Regions from separate parts of the Homo sapiens genome. Here all the other regions are linked to region 3. Evidence: promoter capture Hi-C in 16 types of primary human blood cells and fetal thymus (Javierre and others, 2016). All regions are on one chromosome and are shown on one strand. Each heading gives the region's core, a stretch centred on a gene start or on the middle of the fragment in contact. The rest is flanking DNA. Distances are from core to core; before and after follow the strand shown.

The links. The method cuts DNA at HindIII sites, captures the fragments that hold promoters and counts their contacts. A CHiCAGO score of 5 or more calls a contact.
Region 1: a fragment that was not itself captured here is called in contact with the fragment with the promoter of LAMC2 in region 3 in 1 of 17 cell types (M1 macrophages); the score reaches 7.1 in M1 macrophages.
Region 2: a fragment that was not itself captured here is called in contact with the fragment with the promoter of LAMC2 in region 3 in 2 of 17 cell types (M2 macrophages and megakaryocytes); the score reaches 5.6 in M2 macrophages.

Annotation. Positions count from the first base shown.
Region 1 is chr1:182,985,477-182,989,086 of GRCh38, reverse strand. No RefSeq gene overlaps it. Among named protein-coding and RNA genes, the nearest start is that of SHCBP1L, 34 kb to the right of the region's middle. The HindIII fragment of the contact is 179 bases long and covers 1,611-1,789 here.
Region 2 is chr1:182,948,019-182,951,688 of GRCh38, reverse strand. SHCBP1L (SHC binding and spindle associated 1 like) reads left to right here. Exons shown (of 10, transcript NM_030933.4): 2 at 222-371. Among named protein-coding and RNA genes, the nearest start is that of SHCBP1L, 3.3 kb to the left of the region's middle. The HindIII fragment of the contact is 2,115 bases long and covers 342-2,456 here.
Region 3 is chr1:183,184,578-183,187,945 of GRCh38, reverse strand. It overlaps LAMC2 (laminin subunit gamma 2), which reads right to left and starts at 1,682. Exons shown (of 23, transcript NM_005562.3): 1 at 1,515-1,682. The coding sequence starts at 1,593. RefSeq lists a silencer at 1,639-1,708 and enhancers at 1,113-2,312, 1,815-2,397. The HindIII fragment of the contact is 12,597 bases long and covers 1-3,368 here.

The DNA.
Region 1 (3,610 bases), core at 451-2,950, 200 kb after region 3:
ATAATCCCAGCACTTTGGGAGGCTGAGGCGGGTGGATTGCTTGAGGTCAGGAGTTCGAGACCAGCCTGGCCAACATGGTGAAACCCCACCTCTACTAAAATACAAAATTAGCTGGACGAGGTGGCGGGCATCTGTAATTCCAGCTGCTAGGGAGGCTGAGGTAGGAGAATTGCTTGAACCCAGGAGGCAGAGGTTGCAGTGAGCTGAGATCATGCCACTGCACTTCAGCCGGGGTGACAGAGTGAGACTCTGTCTCAAAAATAAAAAATATAAATAAATAAATAAATATTTACTGAAGGAATGAATAAAGCATTTCACTGATGTCACTGGTAGAAAGTGAATTAACCAACAATTGAGTTCTTATAATGTGCCTGGTATTACACTAGATATTGGGGATGGAAGTAGAAATGAGGAGCAAAAGAAATATAATTAGAGTACAACTGAATTGGACAGAGAAAATATGTGCAGATATAAAGTAAATAAAAAGAATTAGATAAATCATTCAGTTGACTCTAGTAAGTAAAATTTTCTATTACGTTCAACAAGCATTTATAAAATTCCAAGTTCTAATAATGTCTTTTCTTAGTTTTTTACTTAGCCTACATGTTATTCTATTTGTATATATTCATTTAAAAATGTGTGTCCCACCTTCCAAAAACCTGGATTAACTGGTGTGATTTGTTCATTGAGTATAAGTCATGGCACATAAAACTCATTTCTTTTTTTCATAGCATTGCTAAGTTGATTGATTATAGGAAAGCTATAGACATAAGAATTTTTTCTCTAAGGACTTTGGCGCAGAAAATATTCTAGTGAATAAGATGGTTGAAAAATAGGAATGACAATAAATTTTAGGTGGACTTAAATCTAGCTGTAGAATGTGCCCAAACATGTGATTAATGGCTGAGGAGCAAGCTTGGAAAAGTCTCTCATCAACTTCCACAGGAATCTATTCAAGGCACTTTAATATTCAACAATCTTTATAAATGTCCCTAAGAATTTGGAGGAATGTTTGCCACTTTTAAGATGACACAAAGTTTATGAGGATGACAAAAACCTAGTTTTAAAGTGATTTCAATAGACTGAGATATTAAGCTACATTTTTTAAAAAGAAAGTTAGTAGTTCTAAATATAAAATCCCATATATATGTCTAAAAATAACTCACCATCATAGCCAGGGGAAGGCCTGGCTTGATAGAGATTAGGTTAAAAAAAAAAAAGCTACTAATATTCAGCCAGTAGAAGTTTGTTTGTTTGTTTGTTTTAAATGAAAAGGAATGCAGCAGCCACACTAATATTTTTTAAAGAATGCATTAGAAAAGAGGGAAAATAATTTGTTCTCTGTTGTTTTAGAAGCTAACACTAGGACTAACAAATTTATGAGAAAATAAGTGGGTTTTATTGTTGTTATTGTTGAATGTAATAAGACATTACTATAATTATAGCCATCCCAAAGTGGAATGGACTGGCTTGAGTGTAACTACTTGTCCTTCCTGAAAATATTTAAGCAGAAGCTATATGACCATTTATTGGGGAGACTAAAAATTTCAACTGTACCTTGTAGAAATTGGGTTAGCTAACATATTTAACTATTAAGCATCATTAAAGCTTGGAGCAGTGGCTTATGCCTGTAATCCCAGCTACTCAGGAGGCTGAGGTGGGAGAATAGCTTGAGGCCAGGAGTTTGAGGCTGCAGTGAACTGTATGATTGTACCTTTGTACTCCAGCTTGGGTAACAAAGTGAGACCCTGTCTGTTAAGGAAAAAAAAAAGCATCATTAAATAAAGCTTTATCTCACATGTGGTAATGTATTGCTTGGTCAAGCAAACTGATTTAAAGAGAAAGTTTCCAATGCTATAAAACCTTGCGGGACTGAGATCTGTGAGGAGGAGAAAAGCCATTGATTTTTAGGATTGCTTTTTCCCTTGATGTGCTTGTCACTTCTGAAAGTGGAAGCAGCAGCCAAAGGGTGCAATGCTTAGCAGAGTTTTCATTATTTCATGGTAAAAGAAAGACAAAAATTGGAATCCCAGGCCCAAGAAGGAGGAGGAGAAATCCCAGTAAGCACTAGGCTTTTGAATGAGACCTGACAGGCTCTATTCTGGAAGTAAAAGTAGATCAGAAAGAGACCAGACCTCAAAAAGGCTGAAGCCAAACAGTGAATAACCTTAAATCCTGAATAAATTAAACTGATCTTCCCTAGCTTACCTGTTTGTCAGGAGCAGAAGGAGATCACCTGTGGAAAAAGATAATGTCATCCAGAGCCTCAAAATTAATTTTTTGCATAATTTTTAATACACAATATCTGACACAGAATAATAAATAGCCAAACATACAAACCAAGAGAGGTGAGCTGGCATTTGAGGCTGCAATTTTCCATATTCAACTGGTTTTTTTGTTTGTTTGTTTGTTTTGGAGACGGAGTTTTGCTCTTGTTGCCCAGGCTGGAGTGCAATGGCGCGACCTTGGCTCACCGCAACCTCCGCCTCCCAGTTTCAAGCGATTCCCCTGCCTCAGCCTCCCGAGTAGCCGGGATCACAGGCATGTGCCACCACGCCCAGCTAATGTTTTTGTATTTTTAGTAGAGACGAGGTTTCTCCATGTTGGTCAGGATGGTCTCGAACTCCCAATCTCAGGTGATCCGCCCGCCTCGGCCTCCCAAAGTGCTGGGATTACAGGCGTGAGCCACTGCGCCCGGCCTCAACAGTTGATTTTAAAACCAAAATAGGAACTAAAAGTCTGCCCAAAATAAGAGATAAAAACAATAGAAAGAAAATCTCAGATGGAGAAATTTGGCAAAGAACTAAAAATAAATATAAAGAATCAAACGGAAATTCTAGAACTGAAAAAACCTGAAATTAAGAATTCAAAGGATGGATTTAACAACAGAATACATAAATGCAGACAGAATTAATGAGTTGAAATATAGGTCAGATGAAAGAGACAGATTGAAGATGGAGAGAATAAAAGAGGGGAAATACCAAAACAAGCATAAAAAACAAATAAGACTCACTAAAAATGTCTAACCTACATATAAGTGGAGATGCAGATGGAGAAGAGAGAGAAAATGGGCAGATGCAATATTTAAAGAGATAATGGGTGAGGATTTTCCAAAACTGATAAAAAAAATTGAGCCCTGTACAGGTTCAAGAAATATTGAGACTCTTAAACAAGATAAATACAAGACAATCACACCTAAGCACATCAGTGTATAACTGCTGAATCTCAAACACAAAGGGAAAAAAAATTTTTACAAAAGAAGTCAAATAAACTCAGATACCTGCAGTAGAGCAACAATGTGACTGACTACTCACTCACAAGAGAAACAATGAAAGCCATGAAACAGTGAATCGTATCTTCAAAATGATGGTGGGAAAACCTGCCAACCTAGACTTCTACATCCAGTAAAAATATACTTTAAAATAAATATTAAAGGCAGGCACAGTTGCTCACCTCTGTATTCTCAGCACTTTGGGAGGCCAAAGTGTGAGGATCATTTGAGTCCAGGAGTTTAAGATCAGCTTGGGCAACACAGCAAGACCTCATCTCTATAAAAACTAACCAACCAACCAACAACCAACCAAACAAACAAAACACTAAATAAACACTT
Region 2 (3,670 bases), core at 150-2,649, 240 kb after region 3:
TTATTCGAGTGAATAGATCTCTTTTAAGTTTAATTTTTTGTTGGTGATGTTTTCCACTAGATGCGGTTTCAGTTAAAATCTGTAATTTTCCAGGTCATTCATTATTTAAGGCTATATTGGTTCCATTTTAAAATAGAAATCAGTAAAAAAAAAAAAAACCACTTAGTTTAAAATCTATAATTTCATATATTTATATGTAGATCCATTTTTTCTCTTGTTAGGCAGAAGATGCTGATGAAGTTATGGGTAAATACCTATCAGAAAAATTAAAGTTGAAAGACAAATGGCTTGGAGTCTGGAAGACTAATCCCAGTGTATTCTTTGTGAAATATGAAGAAGCTTCTATCCCTTTTGTTGGTATATTGGTTGAGGTAAATAAATTTTATTTGATCTTTGTTCTTTTTGAATCAGTTCTTTTAAAGACTAAAATATGACTTTATTATTTGGAGATTGATACACAAGAGTTGACACATTTTTACTTCTGTTTTAAGTTTCCGAGAAAATTAATAGTGTAAAAAGAAGGTTAGGGGAATATTAGTGCCTGTAAACCATTATCATTAAATGGAATCTAGTAGTATCAGACAATATTTATTAGCCTAGTTTTTGCTCAACTAATGTAAAAATAACAAAAATGCATTTCTTATAAAATTAGTGATTCAGTCTTTAACAAACTTGGGCCTTCTTTTTCTGTCTTTTCCCTTTAATCTTCATTTATCTGAATTAAGAAGTTTAGTTCAGATGAGGAAAAAAAAAGAAATGGATCAGAAAACTACTGGGAAAATTTGAAATTTTTTTCCTTTGAAAAGTACCCTTTTTAGGGAGGCTGAGGCAGGAGAATGGTGTGAACCCAGGAGGCGGAGCTTGCAGTGAGCTGAGATCATGCCACTGCACTCCAGCCTGGGCAACAGAGTGAGACTCCGTCTCAAAAAAAAAAAGTACCCTTCTAGTATAATATCTTCCAAGCCTTTATCTGATAAGATTTTTCTTTTTTTTTTCTTTTGAAACAGAGTTTCGTCCTGTCGCCCAGGCTGGAGTGCAGTGGTGTGATCTCGGCTACTGCAACCTCTGCCTCCCCGGTTCAAGCGATTCTCCTGCCCCAGCCTCCCGAGTAGCTGGGATTACAGGCGCATGCCACCATGCCCAGCTAATTTTTTGTATCTTTGGTAGAGACGGGGTTTAACCCTGTTGGCCAGGCTGGTCTTGAACTCCTAACCTTGTGATCTTTAGCAGAGAAGGGGTTTCACCATGTTGGCCAGACTGGTCTCGAACTCCTGGCCTCGTGATCTGCCTGACTCAGCCTCCCAAAGTGCTGGGATTACAGGCATGAGTCACTGCACCCGGCCCTAATAAGATTTTTCTTTGTTAGGCCTGTAGGCTAAACATTGTGGCATGTTTGATTCTGTTAAAGGTCAATTATCCTTATATAGAAATTAATATTTATAACCACAAATGATACCCTTACCCCAGATAGTTAGTTTAAATCTGTATTTTTGGATACAAGAAAAACTTATGTATGTAACTTGTTGTATTATATACTACTTGAAAACAATTTAAAAATATGTGTTCTGTGGAAAAGTCAGTGTCAGTTTTACAGATAAAGAATGGCGGCTGGGCGTGGTGGCTCACGCCTGTAGTCCCAACACTTTGGGAGGCCAAGGTAGGTGAATCACTTGAGCTCAGGAGTTAGAGACCAGCCTGAGCACCATGGTGAAACCCCATCTCTACCAGAAAAACAGGCACACACCTGTGGTCCCAGCTACTCAGGAGGCTGAGGTGGGAGGATCGCTTGAGCCTGGGAGGCAGAGGTTGCAGTGAGCCTGGGTGACATAGTGAGGCCCCATCTCAAAAAAAAAAAAAAAAAGAATACCATATTTTCAGTCACAGAGATTACAAAGGAATGTAAAAGATTATTGGGATTAGTTAATTTTTCAATAAGACTCTATTAGTTAATATTTCAGTAATACTGTTTCTTTTCCTTTTTCTTTTTTTTTCAAGATAAGGTCTAACTCTGTTGCCCAGGCTGGAGTGCAGTGGTGCAATCTCAGCTCACTGCAACCTCTTCCTCTAGGTTTCAAGCAGTCCTCCCACCTCAGCCTCCTGAGTAGCTGTGACTGCAGGCGTGTACCACCACACCCGGCTAATTTTTGTGTTTTTAGTAAAAACGGGATTTCACTATGTTGGCCAGGCTGGTCTCGAACCCCCGACCTCAAGTGATCCACCCACCTCAGTCTCCCAAAGTGCTGGGATTACAGGCAGAGCCACCATGCCCAGCCAGTAGTACTCTGTTTTGTAGAGGTTTGCTCATCTTCAGACTTTGAGTAGCTTTGCCGAGATCTTTCACAACTTCTCTGGATTTTTTTCATCTGGATAAAAATGGTTTTCATCTGGCTTTATGACTTTTTTTTTTTTAGTATAAGTTTGTGGGTTTTTTTTCAATCAGGTTTTATGTGGAAGCTTAACATTAAAGCAGAACATTTCTGATTGAAATGGATGATGGTGTCTTAGCAGCTCTCTCCATACCTCATGATAGCCCCTATACTCCATAAAACTTTTCAAGATCTCTAAAGTTCCATGGAAACTCAGTGGATTAGGTAACCTTAAAGTTCTATCAATTTCTAAGGTTTTACCTGCAATACATTGATTATTTAATCTGTCCCTGCCTTGCTTTAGAATTTGTGAGGGTCTAGTAATGTCCTCTAAATGTTAGAAAGACAGGATGAAGCATAAGAACAGAGGAAAAAGCAAAACAGTATATTGGCAGATTCTAATTCTTTTGTGGCAGAAAAACAAGTGAGAATGGCTCTTGGGACCTCTTAAGATAGTGCTGCACAATTCATATTGTTGTTTTATCTGACTCTGCTTCTTTAGTCTTACTTCAGTTGAAGTATTAATAATGCTATATAATACTCTTTGTTCTGATGTCACAATAATTTATTCCTATGGGCCCCTGATCGCTTTTTCTTTAGATGCTGTATTAGTTTTCTATTGCTGCCACAACAAATTACCACACTCAGTGGCTCAAAGAATACAAATTTATTATCTTACAACTCTGTAGGTCAGAAGTCTGACATGGGCCTAACTGAGCTAAAATCAAGGTGTATGCAAGGCTGCATACCTTTATGGAGGCTGTGTGGGAGAATCTGTTTCCTGGCCTTTTTTAACCTCTAGAAGCAGCCTGCATTCTGTGGCTTGTGGCCCTCTTCCTTCATCTTCAATGTGCTTCTCACACTGCATCTTTCTGCTTCACTGCAGGCTAAAAAGGCAGTCCCCTTTTAATAGACTCGTGATTAGAATGGGCCCAACTGGGTAATCCAAGATGACCTCCACATCTCAATGTCTTTAGTTGTAATCACATCTGTGAAGTCCATTTTGCCATGTAAGGTAACATATTCACAGATTAGGATTAGGGAATGGACGTCTTTGGGGGCCATTATTATGCCTATCATGAATTCATACAATAACCAACCAACAAACAAAAAACTTAGAAACATAGTGTTGACTCCTGAACAGTGCAGGGCCCTGCACAGTCAAAAATCCGTGTATAACTTTTGACTTCCCAAATACTTAACTAATAGCCTACTGTTGACTGGAAGCCTTGCTGATATCGTATACAGTTGATTAACATATTTTGTATGTCATAAATATGATAAACACTATATTCTTACAATAA
Region 3 (3,368 bases), core at 433-2,932:
ACTTATCATGTATAAAAGATGTATCTTATTCCTTTATTACTTTTATAATGTGGCTCAAAAAGCTCCAGCCTAAGAGCCCCTGGATCAAGAGCCAGTTTCATCTCTGCCTGTGTGGCCTTGAGAAACACATTTTCATTTTCTCATTTTTCAAATCAAGAGATTCCAAGTAGTTGATCCATAAGCAGTCCCTTTAAATTCTAATATTCAGAGACTATTTTTACTTTGGGGATGTCTTCCATTAGGCTGAGACTTCTTATCCCAGCCCTAAGAGAACATACCCTTCATGACCATTTTCAGAACCTTTTATTTATCACTTTTTAAAACTATATATATTTAAGGTATACAACATGATGTTTCGATATACACAGTAAAATAGTATTCTAGTCAGGCAAATTAATATGTTCATTATTTCACATACTTATCTCCACCTTTTTTTTTTTTTTGGTGGCAATCATACATGGTTTTGAAAATGGTAGTCAGAGATGATAGGTTGGAAGTTAATTCCAAGACTTTTTTAGACAAAAAGGACTGTAGCATTGCATTCAAACACATGCTCAAACATTATTCATGCCACTCAAATCCAATTCAGGCCAGCATCACCCGGAATGCACAATAATATTGGGAATGGCTTATACAATTGCATGTGCATGTGAGCATTATCTCATATTCATGCATGCACTTGTGTGGAAATGGCTCTTGGTCTTGGACCTATTGAAAGAATGATTGAAACGCCATCAGATGCAGGATGCAATATAAACATAAAACATCAGGGCAATTATACAGGCATATATCCATAGAACTAAGTGACAAGGAAAACACCCATAAAATGTTGCCATAGCTGACACATGCTTACAGTTAAGAGTTGCTAGGTTCTCACAAAGTTTTGTTTACATGAACTTAACGTCTAACACATGACAGCCAACTAGGTGCCCTAGATAAGATCAAATGATATATGACACAGGTGCCCAGTAAGTGCCTGTTGAATGAATATTACATGAAAATACTATGAAAAGTAACGTGATGCAAAAGTTAAGGGTATTGCTAATACTATTAAGGCTCATTTTTCCATCCGAAATTTGAAACATCAATTACAGGATTATTGAAGAGGTTCCTTTGCAATCTTTGTGGTGTTCACAGTCATGGGAAACATTGCCACCAAAACCTTTTAATAAAAGCACACGCTGGGGAAAGAACGTATATAACAACACATTATTGATTAAATAGCGGCCCCTTGGTCGAAAAAAGACATCAAGAAGGAACATTTTTAAGGTAAGGAAGACCCTCTTTTGTCACAGCTTATTGTCTTACTATTTTTAAAAAGCAGATAGCTTTATATATTAGTCTCATTTAAAATCCGTCTCTGGAGGAGCCCCAGATAGGGGAGGAGAAGGGAGCTCTAACAAGTTTCTGGACAAAGTGGGAATCCTCGGAGGTACGTTCAGCCATCACGGTCTGCAGAGAAAGGCAGATTCTCAGCCCAGGGCTGAGATGTTTCCTTGTGGAAGCCGACTCACCTTCCCTCCTGGAGGTGGCCCGGGCTGCGGGCAGGAGGAGCGAGAAGCAGAGGCAGCAGCCCAGCCAGAGCGCAGGCATGGCGGGGCCGGGCCGCTCAGTCTCTGTCTCCGCTGCAGGGGTCGCTGCCCGGCGCCTCGGTTGGTGGTTCTCACTCTGCGCTCCGCTGTGCCTTCCTTTTCCTTGATCAGGTGGTTTTATCGACTCTTCTACCTGACTCAGTCCTGACAGGAAGAGAGCCTGTGTTTCAGGGTGTGACTCACCTGTGAATAAGGAGGACCCAGCCCTCCAGAGGCAGACAAACACACAGAGCACAAACCGGGCTGGAAAATCGCTCCCCGCAGCCGCCCGCTCCCCCTCGCAGCGAGGAGGGCGCACACCTGGCCCGGGCCAAGGGTGTGGCACAGAGGCTGCGGCCCGGGAGCCTTTGCCTGGAATGTGCGAGATTCCCCGGAGCCCTCCTTCTCTCCCGGGGTGGTCCAGGGCAGATTCACAGAGGTAGACAGCAGCCCGCCCCTTCCTCAAACTGGGAGGCCCAATCTTAAGAGCGCTAACTCAGAAATAAGGCAGCAGCCCGAATCAGCTCCGGCTTAAAGGACATCAAGGAAGACAAGTCAGTCGGAGAGTCACAACAGGGTCCTCTCCACCCTCCAGTTTAGGGTCAACCTCTCCTTTCTCCAGGCTGAACCAAGGGTTTCTCTCCTGGTCCACATAACTTCCTGCTCACCAGGGTTAGCAACTCATAAAGTAACCTATTGACTGGCCAACCTCCCTATAAAGACTGAGTATCGTTTTCTTTTTGTTTGTTTTTTTGTTTGTTGGTTGGTTTTTGTTTTTGTTTTCAATGGCACCATCATAGCGCACTGCAGCCTCCAACCCCTGGGCTCAAGCAATCCTCCCACCTCAGCCTCTTGAGTAGCTAGGGCTACAGGCAAATGCCACCACACCCAGCTAATTTTTTAATTTTTTGTAGAGACGAGGTCTTGCTGTGTTGGGCAGGCTGACCTTGAATTCCTGGCCTCAAGTAATCCTCCTGCCTTGGCCTCCCAAAGTGCTGGGATTATAGGCATAAACACCATCCCTGGCCCACTTTATATTCCTAACTATAATAGTATCTAGCTTGCAGTTGGTGCTTAATAAATATTGGCTTGAAATGAATAAGAAAGAGGATCTAGATACCAAACTCTTTTACATCTTAGAGTGTATTTCTCAGCCACTCTCCATGGGCACTAGAGAAAATATTTGTTGAGACCAACTTTGAATGTTATCTACTAGCACAGTGCTAGCTGAAGTGAGTAATATCTAGACAACTGCAAATCTTGGTATAAACTATATTGTCTCTTCTCCTAAGGAGGCTAGTGACAATAATTCAGAGAGGTGGCTGTCAAGAAGGCTTTGGTTCCTGCTAGAGATTTAAAAATTGCTAGAGCTTTATAAATACACAATCTGTCCAAAACAACCAACCCTTCTTCTCAACATTGAGGCCTACAAAGGCCCCCAATAAATAGCTATTTGCTGACTAAATATATGAATATTCTCCAGATTGTTCTGTGGATGACAACAACATAAGATAATGAACAAATCATCCAGGGCAGACATAAGTGTCAAAGGTTCTAAAAACTTCGGTTCATGCATGTCATGGAGACCAGTGTGGGCTGACTGGGATAGCTAGGGATGGCTTTGTACAGAACGTGGAGTATGAACTGGGTGTTAGGAATAGCTGGGGTCTGAATACAGAACCCAAGAATGGTAGGGGCAAGACAGGTTGCTGCAAACTGGCTGACACCTATTCTAAAATCTCCAGCAATAAAACCTGAGGAATAGAAAAGAAACTCCAACTTTCTCATCCAAGGCTT